Regions from separate parts of the Homo sapiens genome. Here region 1 is linked to region 2. The links are contacts of gene promoters, found by promoter capture Hi-C in blood cells and fetal thymus (Javierre and others, 2016). All regions are on one chromosome and are shown on one strand. The core of a region is centred on a gene start or on the middle of the fragment in contact, and the rest is flanking DNA. Distances in the headings are between cores, read along the strand shown. Region 1 has its middle 7.9 kb from the start of TMEM208. Region 2 holds the start of ZDHHC1 (zDHHC palmitoyltransferase 1).

Region 1 (5,988 bases), core at 126-2,625, 200 kb before region 2:
ACAGGCACAGGCATGCCTGCTGTCCCGCCACTCGTTGCCCCTCGCCTCACCTGCTCACCCCTCCACCCTGGCCCCCACAGGATCACGCATTCCTGGCAACAACTCCCCTCCAGCAAGGTCACCAACATGTGGGGGCTTCACCTCAGACCTCCCACAAGGGTTCTCTCTGCCATGTCACCTGCTCTGCATGGCCAGCAGCCACTCCCCTTGATGCCATCTCCACTGGGGTTCTGCAACTCTGCCCCCCTGGCTTTCCTCCTACCTTCTAGCCTGCTCTTCTTCAGGCTCTTTTGGGGTCAACAAAGAACAGAGATCCAGTCCACAGATGAGTGGGTTCCCCATGGTTTGTTCCACCCAAGAACACACACACGTGTGCACGTGCACATATGCACACGATCTTTGTGCCCCTCCGAGTGTACCCTGGCCAACTGCATTTTGCCCCATGGGGCCATCATTCCAACCACTGTCTTTCCGATCCACATGATGTTCCTGAACGCCAGACCCCGGGAGCCAAGTGCCTGACTGGCCTCTCTCCAGAGGGCACGATGCAGCATACCCAAATCTGAACTCATCATCTCATCCTCCAACTCTGCTCCTTCTAAACTCTCCCCACCCTCTATTGAGTCACCCAAGTGGGAAATTTGGGAGTGATTCTAGAATCCTCCCTCACTCCCCACATCCACAATGACCCAAGCCCCTTCCACTTTTGTTTCCCTGATACGGTGCAATCTGTCCCTCTGCTCCAACCTCACTGCTTCTGCCCTAGTTGAAGTCCCCATACTGTATGCCAGCAGCCCGAGAGCTGCTTCCTCTAAGCTCAGACCACGCCAGCTTCCTCCTTATCAGGTCCTGGCCTCCAGTTCCTCTGGCTCCAATCCATCCTGGGTTTTGTCACCATGTGACCCTTCCAAAAGGCGATTCTGCCTGTGCTCTCCAGACCCTCTGCCAGTTCCGCACGCCTCCAGGACACAGGCTAAGCTTCCTAAGCCTGCATTCAAGCCCTTCTAGGACCCAGGCCTGCTGCTTCAGCCAAGCTCTTCCCAAGCCCGTTCCCCTTCCTCCTAGTCCTGGCTCTGGGGCTGCCACTTCTGACCATTGTCCTGTACCGCACGCCTCTGCTCAGCTGCTTTTTCTGTTCTGGGGGGGTCCCACCCCTCACTGGCTCCTATTGGTCTATTTGGCAAATGTTTATTCCTCTCTCGAGTCTCAGGCCAAGCACCTCCTTCTCCATGGAGTCTTTTCTGATCTTTTCTCTGCACCCATGATGTGCCTCACACAGACTTCAAATGCAGCACCCCAGCCTCTTTTTACTCATCTGTACTCACTACACACTCCCCAGCCCTGTGCCTTCCTCAGTTTTGCCTCGCTGGTGCCCAGCACACTGCCCGGCACAGCAGAAACATTTGAGTAAGGCTGCCCACACCCTCTCTATGTGTCTCTGGTAATTTTCCATCTTCCTCCTGTCCTGTGACTGCTCCAACCCTCTCTGCTGAAGCCCTGGCCTCTATGTCTCTTTTTACTCTCCTGAGACAACCTGGTCTCCAAATCCACTGAGTGAAGGGGCCGCTGAGGAAGGAGATGCCTCTGAGGAACTTCTCTGCAAATAGCTCCATGTTTCCACCCCCACCTCTCTGCTTCCTCAGGAAGAGGTGACATCCTTTTTTTCACCAAACTGATGCTGAAAAAACAAAAAAGAAAAACACACACATACACACACAAAAAAACAAAAAAAAAAAAGGGAGAGGTGATATCCTCTCCATCCTATCCCAGATCAAGCTTGGTATGTGGAAGCCTGTCCCTGCCACCATCTTCTACACCTGACCTCTCTCCTCCCCGAATCTTCACCCCTCCTCTAGTGACTCCCTGAAGCATTTATTTATTTATTTAATTTATTTATTTACTTTTTTTTTTTTTGAGACAGAGTCTCACTCTGTCACCCAGGCTGGAGTGCAGTGGCACGATCTCAGTTCACTGCAACCTCCACCTTCCAGGTTCAAGCGATTCTCTGCCTTAGCCTCCTGAGTAGCTGGGATTACAGGCACCTGCCACCATGCCCGGCTAATTTTTTGTATTTTTAGTAGAGACGGGGTTTCACCATCTTGGCCAGGATGGTCTTGAACTCCTGACCATGTGATCCACCCACCTTGGCCTCCCAAAGTGCTGGGATTATAGGTGTGAGCCACTGCACGCGGCCTCTTTTTTTTTTTTTTTCCTTTTTTTTTTGAGATGGAGTCTTGCCCAGACTGGCTGGAGTGCAGTGGTGCAATCTCGGCTCACTGCAAGCTCCGCTTCCTGGGTTCATGCCATTCTCCTGCCTCAGCCTCCTGAGTAGCTGGGACTACAGGCGCCCACCACCACGCCCAGCTAATTTTTTGTATTTTTTTTTTTTTTTTTAGTAGAGATGGGGTTTCACCGTGTTAGCCAGGATGGGTTTTTCGTTGTTTTTTTTTGAAATGGAGTCTTGCTCTGTTGCCCAGGCTGGAGTGCAGTGACATGATCTCAGCTCACTGCAAGCCCCACCTCCCAGGTTCAAGTGATTCTCCTGCCTCAGCCTCCCGAAGAGCTGTGATTACAGGCATTCGCCACCATGCCCAGCTAATTTTTGTATTTTTAGTAGAGATGGGGTTTCACCATGTTGGCCAGGGTGGTCTCGAACTCCTGACCTCAATTGATCTACCAGCATTGGCCTCCCAAAGTGCTGGGATTACAGGCTTGTGTCACTGCACCGGGCCACCCTGAAGCTTTATTTATTTATTCATTTATTTATAGACAGGGTCTTGCTCTGTCACCCAGGCTGGAGTGCAGTGGTGTGATCTCTGCTCACTGCAACCTCTGCTTCCCAGGTTCAAGAGATTCTTGTGCCTCAGCCTCCCGAGTAGCTGGGATTACAGGTGTGCACCACTGCACCTGGCTAATTTTTGTATTTTTAGTAGAGATGGGGTTTCAACTTGTTGGCCAGACTGGTCTTGAACTCCTGGCCTCAAGTGATCCACCAGCCTCAGCCTCCCAAAGTGCTGGGATTACAGGTGTGAGCCACCGTGCCCAGTCTCCTGATGCATTCAAACACATTTCAGATTTCTCCAGAAGAGAATCCCTTTGTCTTTGTCAAACCCATCTCAACTTCTCATTTCTGCCCTATTTCTTTCTCTCTCTCTCTCTCTTTTTTTTTTTTTTTTGAGACGGAGTCTCTCTCTGTTGCCCAGGCTGGAGTGAAGTAGAGCAATCTCGGTTCACTGCAACCTCCACCCCTGGGTTCAAGTGATTCTCCTGCCTCAGCCTCCAGAGTAGCTGGGATTATAGGAACCCACCACCATGCCTGGCTAATTTTTGTATTTTAGTAGAGGGGGTTTCGCCGTGTTGGCCAGGCTGGTCTCAAACTCCTGACCTCAGGTGATCCACTCGTCTCGGCCTCCCAAAGTTCTAGGATTACAGGCATGAGCCACTGTGCCTGACTTGCCCTATTTATTTCCTTCTTTCTGTAGAGAAATTTCTTTTTTTTTTGTTTTTTTTTTTTTTTGAGATGGAGTTTTGCTCCAGCCCAGGCTGGAGTGCAATGGCACGATCTGGGCTCACTGCAACCTCCGCCTCCTGGGTTCTAGCGATTCTCCTGCCTCAGCCTCCCGAGTAGTTGGGATTACAGGCATGCGCCACCACACCCAGCTAATTTTTGTATTTTTAGTAGAGACAGGGTTTCACCATGCTGGTCAGGCTGGTCTCAAACTCCCAACCTTAGATGATCCGCCCACCTCGGCCTCCCAAAGCGCTGGGATTACAGGTGTGAGCCACTACGCCCGGCCAAGAAATTTCTTGCCAGCGAGGTCACGCTCTACACTTCCTACTTCTCTCATTCACTCCTCAATCCACCTGGCTTATTTTTCCAGATGCCAAATATCACTGAAGCCATTGGTGGCCTCCTTGGATAACATATCTCATGGACAATATTTGTTCTTCATTTTGCTGGGCTTTTTGTGGGATCTGACATTGTTAATCATCCATTCAATCCTTTATTTATGTATTTTTTTTTGAGACTGAGTCTCGCTTTGTCGCCCAGGCTGGAGTACAGCGGCTAGATCTCGAATCACTGCAACCTCCACCTCTCTGGTTCAAGTGATTCTCCTGTCTCAGACTCCTGAGTAGCTGGGACTATAGGCGTGAGCCACCACGCCCGGCCTCATTCAATCCTTTAAATGCTCTCCTGCTCTCCTGCCTTTGACGTCTGTGCCCTCCTCTCTCTGAGAGCTCCTCATTCCCCTCTTTGGGTATCTCCTCCTTTCTGTGCCCTTGGACTTGTGTCCTCTCCTGGGGCTTCTCTGTGGCCTGCTGTTCTGTGGCTCTGCATGTTCTCCCCGGGGGAAGTTACTCAGATCTGTGGCTTCAACTGCCACCTATTCTTTAATGACACTCAAATCTATATTTATTACCCAGATATTTCTCTTGAATTCCTCACTCAGAAATGCAACTACCAAGTGGATCTCAACATCTAGATCCTCACACTTCAAACTTTCAACATGTCCAAAATAAAATTCCTTTGGACAGTGAGATGAATGTCACTGTATACATAATTCAACAAAAGAATCTACTTATAGACTCATATTTAATAGGGGATAGAGGATTCCAACCAAACAGAGAAGGAGAAGATTAGATGTAAATGGTGTTCGGGCTCTTTGAAAATTAATCAGTTTAGCTTCTTACCTCATAACATAAATCTAAATAATTTTTACCAATAAAAACATTAACACAAAAATTCAAACCAGAAAGCAGAAGAGACAGTTTTGCTGTAAACCTAAAACTGCTCTAAGTAATAGAGTCTATTTAAGAAAAACAGAAGAAAAGTGTAAAAGGGCAAGGAATCATTAAGTTTAGAAAACAATGGAAGAAGTGAAAAAGAAAAGGATGTTCAGAATCAACAACAGAGAAATTTAACTTCTGGGCCAGGCATGGTGGCTCATGCCTGTAATCCCAGCACCTTGGGAAGCTAAGGTGGGCAGATCTCTTGAGCCCAGGAGTTTGAGACGAGCCTGGGCAACATGGTGAAATCTCGTCTCTGTTAAAAATATAGGCTGGGCGTGGTGGCTCACGCTTGTAATCCCAGCACTTTGGGAGGCCGAGGCGGGAGGATCATGAGGTCAGGAGATGGAGACCATCTTGGCTAACACAGTGAAACCCCATCTCTACCAAAAATACAAAAAAAAAATTAGCTGGGCGCGGTGGCGGGCGCCTGTAGTCCCAGCTACTCGGGAGGCTGAGGCAGGAGAATGGCGTGAACCTGGGAGGCGGAGCTTGCAGTGAGCCAAGATCTCGCCACTGCACTCCAACCTGGGCGACAGAGCGAGACTCCGTCTCAAAACAAACAAACAAACAAAAAACATATATATATATAAATTAGCCAGGCATGGTGACATGCATCTGTAGTCCCAGCTACTCAGGAGGCTGAGGTGGGAGGATCACCTGAGCCTGGCGAGGTCGAGGCTGCAGTGACCTGTGATTGCACCACTGCACTCTAGCCCAGGCAACAGAGCAAGACTCTGTCTCAAAAACAAACAAATGAAATTTTTAAAAAATTAAATCAAATTAAAATTTTAAAGAGAGGCCAGGTTTGGTGACTCACACGTGAAATCCCAGCACTTTGGGAGGCCGAGGTGGGTGGATCATGAGGTCAAGAGATCCAGACCATCCTGGCCAACATGGTGAAACCCCATCTCTACTAAAAATATAAAAATTAGCTGGGCGTGGTGGTGCATGCATAGTCCCAGCTACTCGGGAGGCTGAGGCAGGAGAATTGCCTGAACCCGGGAGGTGGAGGTTGCAGTGAGCTGAGATCATGCCACTGTACTCCAGCCTGGTGATGGAGCGAGACTCCGTCTCAAAAAAATAAATAAATAGAAATAAAAAAAGAAGCGCGGCACAGTGGCTCACGCCTGTAATCCCAGCACTTTGGGAGGCCAAGTGGGTGCAGATCACTTGAGGTCAGGAGTTCGAGACCAGCCT
Region 2 (6,386 bases), core at 602-3,101:
TCCAACTGTTCTTGTAGATCCCTGTAGTCACTGATTTCAGATGTGACTGGCCTCTCACTTCCTCATAAAAAACATACAGAACACCCACTCCCATCATGAGGACACTGAGGCTCAGAGACACTAAATGAGTTATTTTAGGAGGCACAGCTAGATTGGCAGAACTAGGATGGCCCTCAACTGACTTCCCGGTATGTCTGTCACAACCATGCTGCTCAGCAGCCAGAGTGAAGTGAGCTTTTCAAACGTGAAACTCATCCAAACTCTTCTTTGGGAGGCCAAGGTGGCTGGATCACCTGAGGTCAGGAGTTCAAGACCAGCCTGGCCAACATGTTGAAACCCCGTTTCTACTAAAAATACAAAAATTAGCTGGGTGTGGTGGCAGGCGCCTGTAATCCCAGACTTGGGGGGCTGAGGCAGGAGAATCGCTTGAACCCGGGAGGTGGAGGTTGCAGTGAGCCGAGATTGTGCCATTGCAGTCCAGCCTGGGTGACAGAGCGAGACTCCATCTGGAAAATAAAAATAAAAATAAACAAAAAATAAAAAACTCTTCTGCCGCTTGCAGTGGCTCACACCTGTAATCCCAGCACTTTGGGAGGCTGAGGCAAGAGGATCCCTTGAGACCAGGAGCTCGAGACCAGCCTGGGCAAAATAGTAAGACCTCATCTCTACCAAAACCTTAAAAAATTAGCTGAGCGTGGTGGCGGGTATCTGTAGTCTCAGCTACTTGGGAGGCTGAGGCGGGAGGATCGCTTGAGCCCGGGAGCCGGAGCCTGCGGTGACCCATGTTCACACCACAGCACTCCAGCCTGGGTGACAAAGGGAGACCTTGTCTCAAAAAAATAAAAAATTGGCTGGGAACGGTGGCTCACACCTGTAATCCCAACGCTTTCGGAGGCCGAGGCGGGTGGATCACCTGAGGTCAGGAGTTCGAGAACAGCCTGGCCAACATGGTGAAACCCCGTCCCTACTAAAAATATAAAACTTAGCCGGGCGTGGCGGCGGGCGCCTGTAATCCCAGCTACTCCAGAGGCTGAGGCAGCAGAATGGCTTGAACCCGGGAGGCGGAGGTTGCAATGACCCGAGTCGTGCCACTGCGCTCCATCCAGCCTGGGTGACAAGAGCGAAACTCCGTCTCAAAGAAAAAACTAAAACTCTTCCCATGGTTTCCTTTTAAAACAGACCCTCCATGACCAACCCCTCCATTTCAATACCAGAGAGCCTAACCCGACCTGAAATCACTTTAGTCATGTATGACATCCGCTTCCCAGCCCCCTTCCTTAATGCTCTGGGTTCTGGAGACAGACCACGTCTGTTGGGAGTCCTCTGTGCCCACGCCTGGCACAGAGCCTGGCAAAGAGTAAGCGCTCAAGGAAGATCTGTGAACTTGATGCATGCTAAAAGGAAGCCCCGCGCTCTGCCGGGGCCCTGGAACTCAGGCCACCGGCTCCAGGCGGAAGCGAGCCCAAAGCCGGCCAGGCGGCAGCATCCGCTACCCCGTGGCTCAAGCCAGGCTCCGAGGTGAGAAACCGGGCGGGGACTCCTCACCTGCGCGCCGCGGAGGCCGTGCCAGATGGGCCCTGCCAAAGTCAGCCAGAGGTTCGGGCCCCACGCCTGGCCTTCCACCCTCCCCGGGGCAGCCGCGCCTCAGACCCTCGCGGTAGGGACGGTCCCCGGGACTGGGCGGCAACGCGCCCGGGAGCGGGGCCCCATCCCGGACGGAGACTGGGCCGGTGAGTCCTCGAGCTCTGGCTCTGGCTCCGGCTCCGGCTCCGGCTCCGGCTCCGGCTCCGGCTCCAGCAGGCTGGAGGGGCGGCCAGGCCAGACCCAGACTGGCTGGGCCTCGTCCGGCGCTGGGCCCGTTCCCCTGACAACGGCGCGGGCTACGGCGCCCCACAGCGGCCAAACCGCGCTGCGTCACTCCGCGCCGGTCCCCCGGCCAGGGCGGGGCTTGCCAGGGACCCTCTTGGTGCCCCAGTCGGCCCATTCCCAGATTCTTCCTAACCTTTCGTCTAGAAAATCCGCTTTTCCCTACTCCCGAGTCACAGCTTGTCTCCCCGAAATCCTAACATCTCAAAAGCGCCCCCTTCCAGTTTCTATCCTGAGACCACCGCTCTCAAGAAGAGACCTCCCCCAACCCCAGTCAACCTGCACACTTCAATGAGCGTATGTGCTGGAACATCCATGATATCCCGACCCTTCCGGGAGCTTACAGGTTAAGAGGCAAACAGATCTAGACAAATAAATTACACCACTAAAAATGCAGGTACCCCAGAATATAAAGCGAGAAGCGTAAGAGCTTAAAATAAGCAGCACAAAATATCTCATTTATTTATTGCCTTTAAATCAAGCAAAAATCAAGCCCCAATCTTCCAGGCTGATGGGAAATTCAGTCTTTTTCTATTTTTTAAACTGGTCTCTGTTACCCAGGCTGGAGTGCAGTGGCACGATCACGGCTCTCTGCAGCCTCGAACTCCTGGGCTCAGGCGATCCTCCCGCCTCAGCCTCCAGAGTAGCTAGGACTACAGGCGAACACCACCACGCCCGACTAATTTTCGCATTTTTTTGTAGAGGCGTGGTTTTGCCATGTTGCCCAGGCTGGTTTCGAACTCCTGAACTCAAGCGACCCGCCCACCTCAGCCTCCAAAAGTGCTAGGATTACAGGCGTGAGCCCCTGCCCGGCCGGGAAATTCAGTCTCAGTCTCCACTGTACTCCTTTTAGCTAGGTAATTCCAAAGGACTCATGTTTTCCTATAGCAAAAAACAACAATCAAAAACAAATAAGCAAAAAACTCTCTGGTCAGGGTTTTGTCTGGTACTGAGGCCACAACCATTGCTCCAGTCCACAAAGATTTTCAGGTTTGGGCTCTATGAGGCCATCCCTGCCTGAGGCCCCTGCCTCTCCCTGGGGCTGCCAGGGACAGACACCTGCTTCCTCTGCTCCATGGCCTGCAGCCTCCCTTCCCTTTCTCTACCTGGGAGACTTCCCTGCTAACTTGGTTTCCCTAAAAGTCCCCTCTCCTCTTCTCCTTGTGGACACTCAGAATGGAATCTTCTATGAGCTCAGGCTTTCTCAAAAGACAGGAAGACACTTTGTCTTCTGCTATCTGTCCTGTGCGCATCTCCAAGGCAGATATGACAGATAGGGAAAGAAAACATCCTTATCTCTAAAATGTATAAGTCACAAGCATACTTATTGTATGTTTTATTAGGCAACATAACTACTCCTTCTCTGTCACATGACAGGTGTGTGGGTCCTTGTGCAAGTGACATAACCTATTACTTAAATTCTTGTTTTCAAGACTGATAAACTCAAACTCAATGTGAGATAAATATCAATGCTATTCTGGCTTCAGAGTACAAGCTGACTACTTAACTCTTATCTGGAATTGGAAAACTTCGGGTCAAACAGAGATCATGACCCAGAAATCAAGGTGAAGGATGAGGCTGGATGCAGTGGCTCACACCTGTAATCCCAGCACTTTAAGGAGGCTGAGGCAGGAAAATCACTTGAAGCCAGGAGTTTGAGACCAGCCTGGGATACATAGAGAGACTCCCATCTCTACAAAAGATGAAAAAAAATAGCTGGGCCTGGTGGCCTGTGCCTATAGTCCCAGCTACTCACGAGGCTGGGGCAGGAGAAAAGAATCACTTGAGTTCGGGAGTTCAAGATTGCAGTGAATTACGATCATGCCACTGCACTCCAGCCTGGGTGAAAGTAAGATCTTATCTCTCAGCTGGTCTCAGTGGCTCACACCTGTAATCCCAACACTTTGGGAGGCCAAGGCAGGTGGATCATGAGGTCAGGAGATCGAGACCATCCTGGCTAACACGGTGAAACCCCATCTCCACTAAAAGTACAAAGTAAGCCAGGCGTGATGGCATGTGCCTGTAGTCCCAGCTACTCGGGAGGCTGAGGCAAGAGAATGGCTTGAACCCAGGAGGCAGAGGTTGCAGTGACCCGAGATCGCACCACTCTACTCCAGCCTGAGTGACAGAGTGAGACTCTGTCACACACAAAAAAAATCTTATCTCTCTCTCTCTCTCTTTTTTTTTTTTTTTTGAGACGGAGTCTCGCTCTGTCTCCCAGGCTGGAGTGCAGTGGTGCGATCTCAGTTGACTGCAGCTTCCACCTCCCGGGTTCAGGCGATTCCCCTGCCTCAACCTCCCGAGTAGCTGGGATTACAGTTGCCTGCCACCATGGGATTGCAGGCATGAGCCACTGTGCCCGGTCAGATTTTATCTCTTTAAAAAATAATAATAAATAAATAAATATTTTAAAAAACAAGGTGGGACTGGGCATGGTGGCTCACACCTGTAATCTGAGCACTTTGGGAGGCCGAGGCAGGCAGATCACTAGAGGTCAGGAGTTTGAGACCAGCCTGGGCAACATGACGAAACCCTGTCTCTACCAAAAATACAAAAATTGGCCGGGCATGGTGGTCTGCGCCTGTAATCCCAGCTACTCGGGAGGCTGAGATGGGAGGATCGCTTGAACCCAGGAGGCAGAGGTTGCAGTGAGCCGAGATTGTGCCATTGCACTCCTTACAGGCGACAGAACAAGACTCTGTCTTTAAATAAATAAATAAATGCAAATACAAATAAAAATTAAAAAACAAAGTGAAAGATGAATCCATATATTCCCATAATAAGGGGAGGGACCCAAAAGACCCTGGATCCACTTGACTCAGGGGCTTCTCTCCTGGATGTCCCATTGGTGTCTGGGATGTAACACATCCCCACATGTCCTCTTTGTCCTTGCCACAAATCTGCTCCTCCCCTTGGGCCCTCTGAAGGGCACCACCATCTACCCAGTAAGCCCATCTGTACACTTAGGCATCTTCCCATGTCTCTCCTGCTAGTCCTTGCCCACCTAAACCAGATAGTGCCTGTGACCAGGCTGCCCTCACTCTGAAACACATTCTGTGTCCATTCTTCCTGCTCCACCCCAGCCCAGACCACCAGCATCTTCCTTGCTGAGCCTGCAGCAGCCTCCAGTTCTCCCTAACATCAGCCTGCCCACTTCCGGCCCATCCTCCTCTCAGTTGCCAGACTATCCTTCCTTCTCTTTGTTAGAGGAGGTAGTAGTCTGAATGATAGCGCCACAATGATGTCATCGCCCTAATCCCTGGAATCTTTGAATGTGTTATGTGATACATCAAAGGGGATTTTGCAGATGAGATGAAGTTAAGATCTCAAGATGGAAGAGATTATCCCAGGTTATCTGAGTGAGCTCAATGTAGTCACAAAGGTCCTTATAAGAGGGAGGCAGGAGGGTCACATGGGAGAAGGACCACGTAACGACAGAGGTCAGAGAGATTTGAAGGTGCTACACTGTGGGCTTTGAAGATGGAGGAAGGGGCCTGAGCCAAGGAATGCAGGCAGCCTCTAGATGCTGGAAAAGGCTAGGGGGCAGACCCTCCTCTAGAGGCTCCAGAAGGAATCAGCCTGCTGTTACCTCGACTCTAGCCCAGGGGGACCCATTTCCAACTTCTGACCTCAAGAACTGTCAAGATGACACAATTGGCAGTGATTTGTTTCAGCAGCAATAGGAAATGGATACAGTGGTTTGCAAACAGGGTTAAGTGCACATATATATGCCCAGTGAAAGCTGTTTTCAATTGAAACAAAAATCCAAGAGACAGCTCAGATTCCTTTGACATCTTTTATTTTTTAAGCGGGCGGGAGGGGGGTGGTTGGGGGGGCAGGGGATGAGTTCTCTCTCTGTCACACAGCCTAGAGCAGAGTGCCGTGATCTTGGCTCACTGCAGCCTCCGTCTCCTGGGCTCAAACGATCCTCCCACCTCAGCCTCCTGAGTAGCTCGGACTACAGGCATACACCATCACACCTTGCTCGGGGTTTTTTTTGTTTTTTTTTTTTTTTTGTACTTTTGATACAGACAGGGTCTTGCTATGTTGCCCAGGCTGATCTCAAACTCCTGAGCTCAAGCCATCCACCCACCTCAGCCTCCCAAAATGCTGGGATTACAGGCATGAGCCATGGCGCCTGGCCTCCCTTGACATCTTTTTGCATGACTCCAAGCCAGGTTCTGTGAGAAGATGATTCTCTCACCCCAAATCTGCTTTTGAAAAGCACAGGCAGTTTGATCATGCTTTTTTTTTTTTTTTGAGACGGAGTCACCCAGGCTGGAGTGCAGTGGCGCAATCTTGGCTCACTGCAACCTCCACTTCCCAGGTTCAAGCAATTCTCCTGCCTCGGCCTCCTGAGTAGCTGGGATTACAGGCCTGTACCACCACACCCAGCTAATTTTTGTATTTTTAGTAGAGTTGGGGTTTCACCAGGTTGACCAGGCTGGTCTCGAACTCCTGACCTCAAGTTGATCATGCTCTTTCTGAGTCTGTCATCCTTGTGTGGTCCCCAATCCAGA

What was found. The method cuts DNA at HindIII sites, captures the fragments that hold promoters and counts their contacts. A CHiCAGO score of 5 or more calls a contact.
Region 1: a contact is called between a fragment that was not itself captured here and the fragment with the promoter of ZDHHC1 in region 2, in 2 of 17 cell types (endothelial precursors and erythroblasts). The highest score is 5.3, in endothelial precursors.

The regions. Positions count from the first base shown.
Region 1 is chr16:67,216,281-67,222,268 of GRCh38, forward strand. It overlaps the pseudogene FBXL9P. Among named protein-coding and RNA genes, the nearest start is that of TMEM208, 7.9 kb to the right of the region's middle. The HindIII fragment of the contact is 798 bases long and covers 977-1,774 here.
Region 2 is chr16:67,414,626-67,421,011 of GRCh38, forward strand. ZDHHC1 (zDHHC palmitoyltransferase 1) reads right to left here and starts at 1,852. Exons shown (of 12, transcript NM_001323627.2): 1 at 1,546-1,852. It overlaps LOC124903702 (a long non-coding RNA gene), which reads left to right and starts at 1,278. Exons shown (of 2, transcript XR_007065093.1): 1 at 1,278-1,518. RefSeq lists a silencer at 1,519-1,908 and enhancers at 1,741-2,398, 6,309-6,386. The HindIII fragment of the contact is 9,596 bases long and covers 1-6,386 here.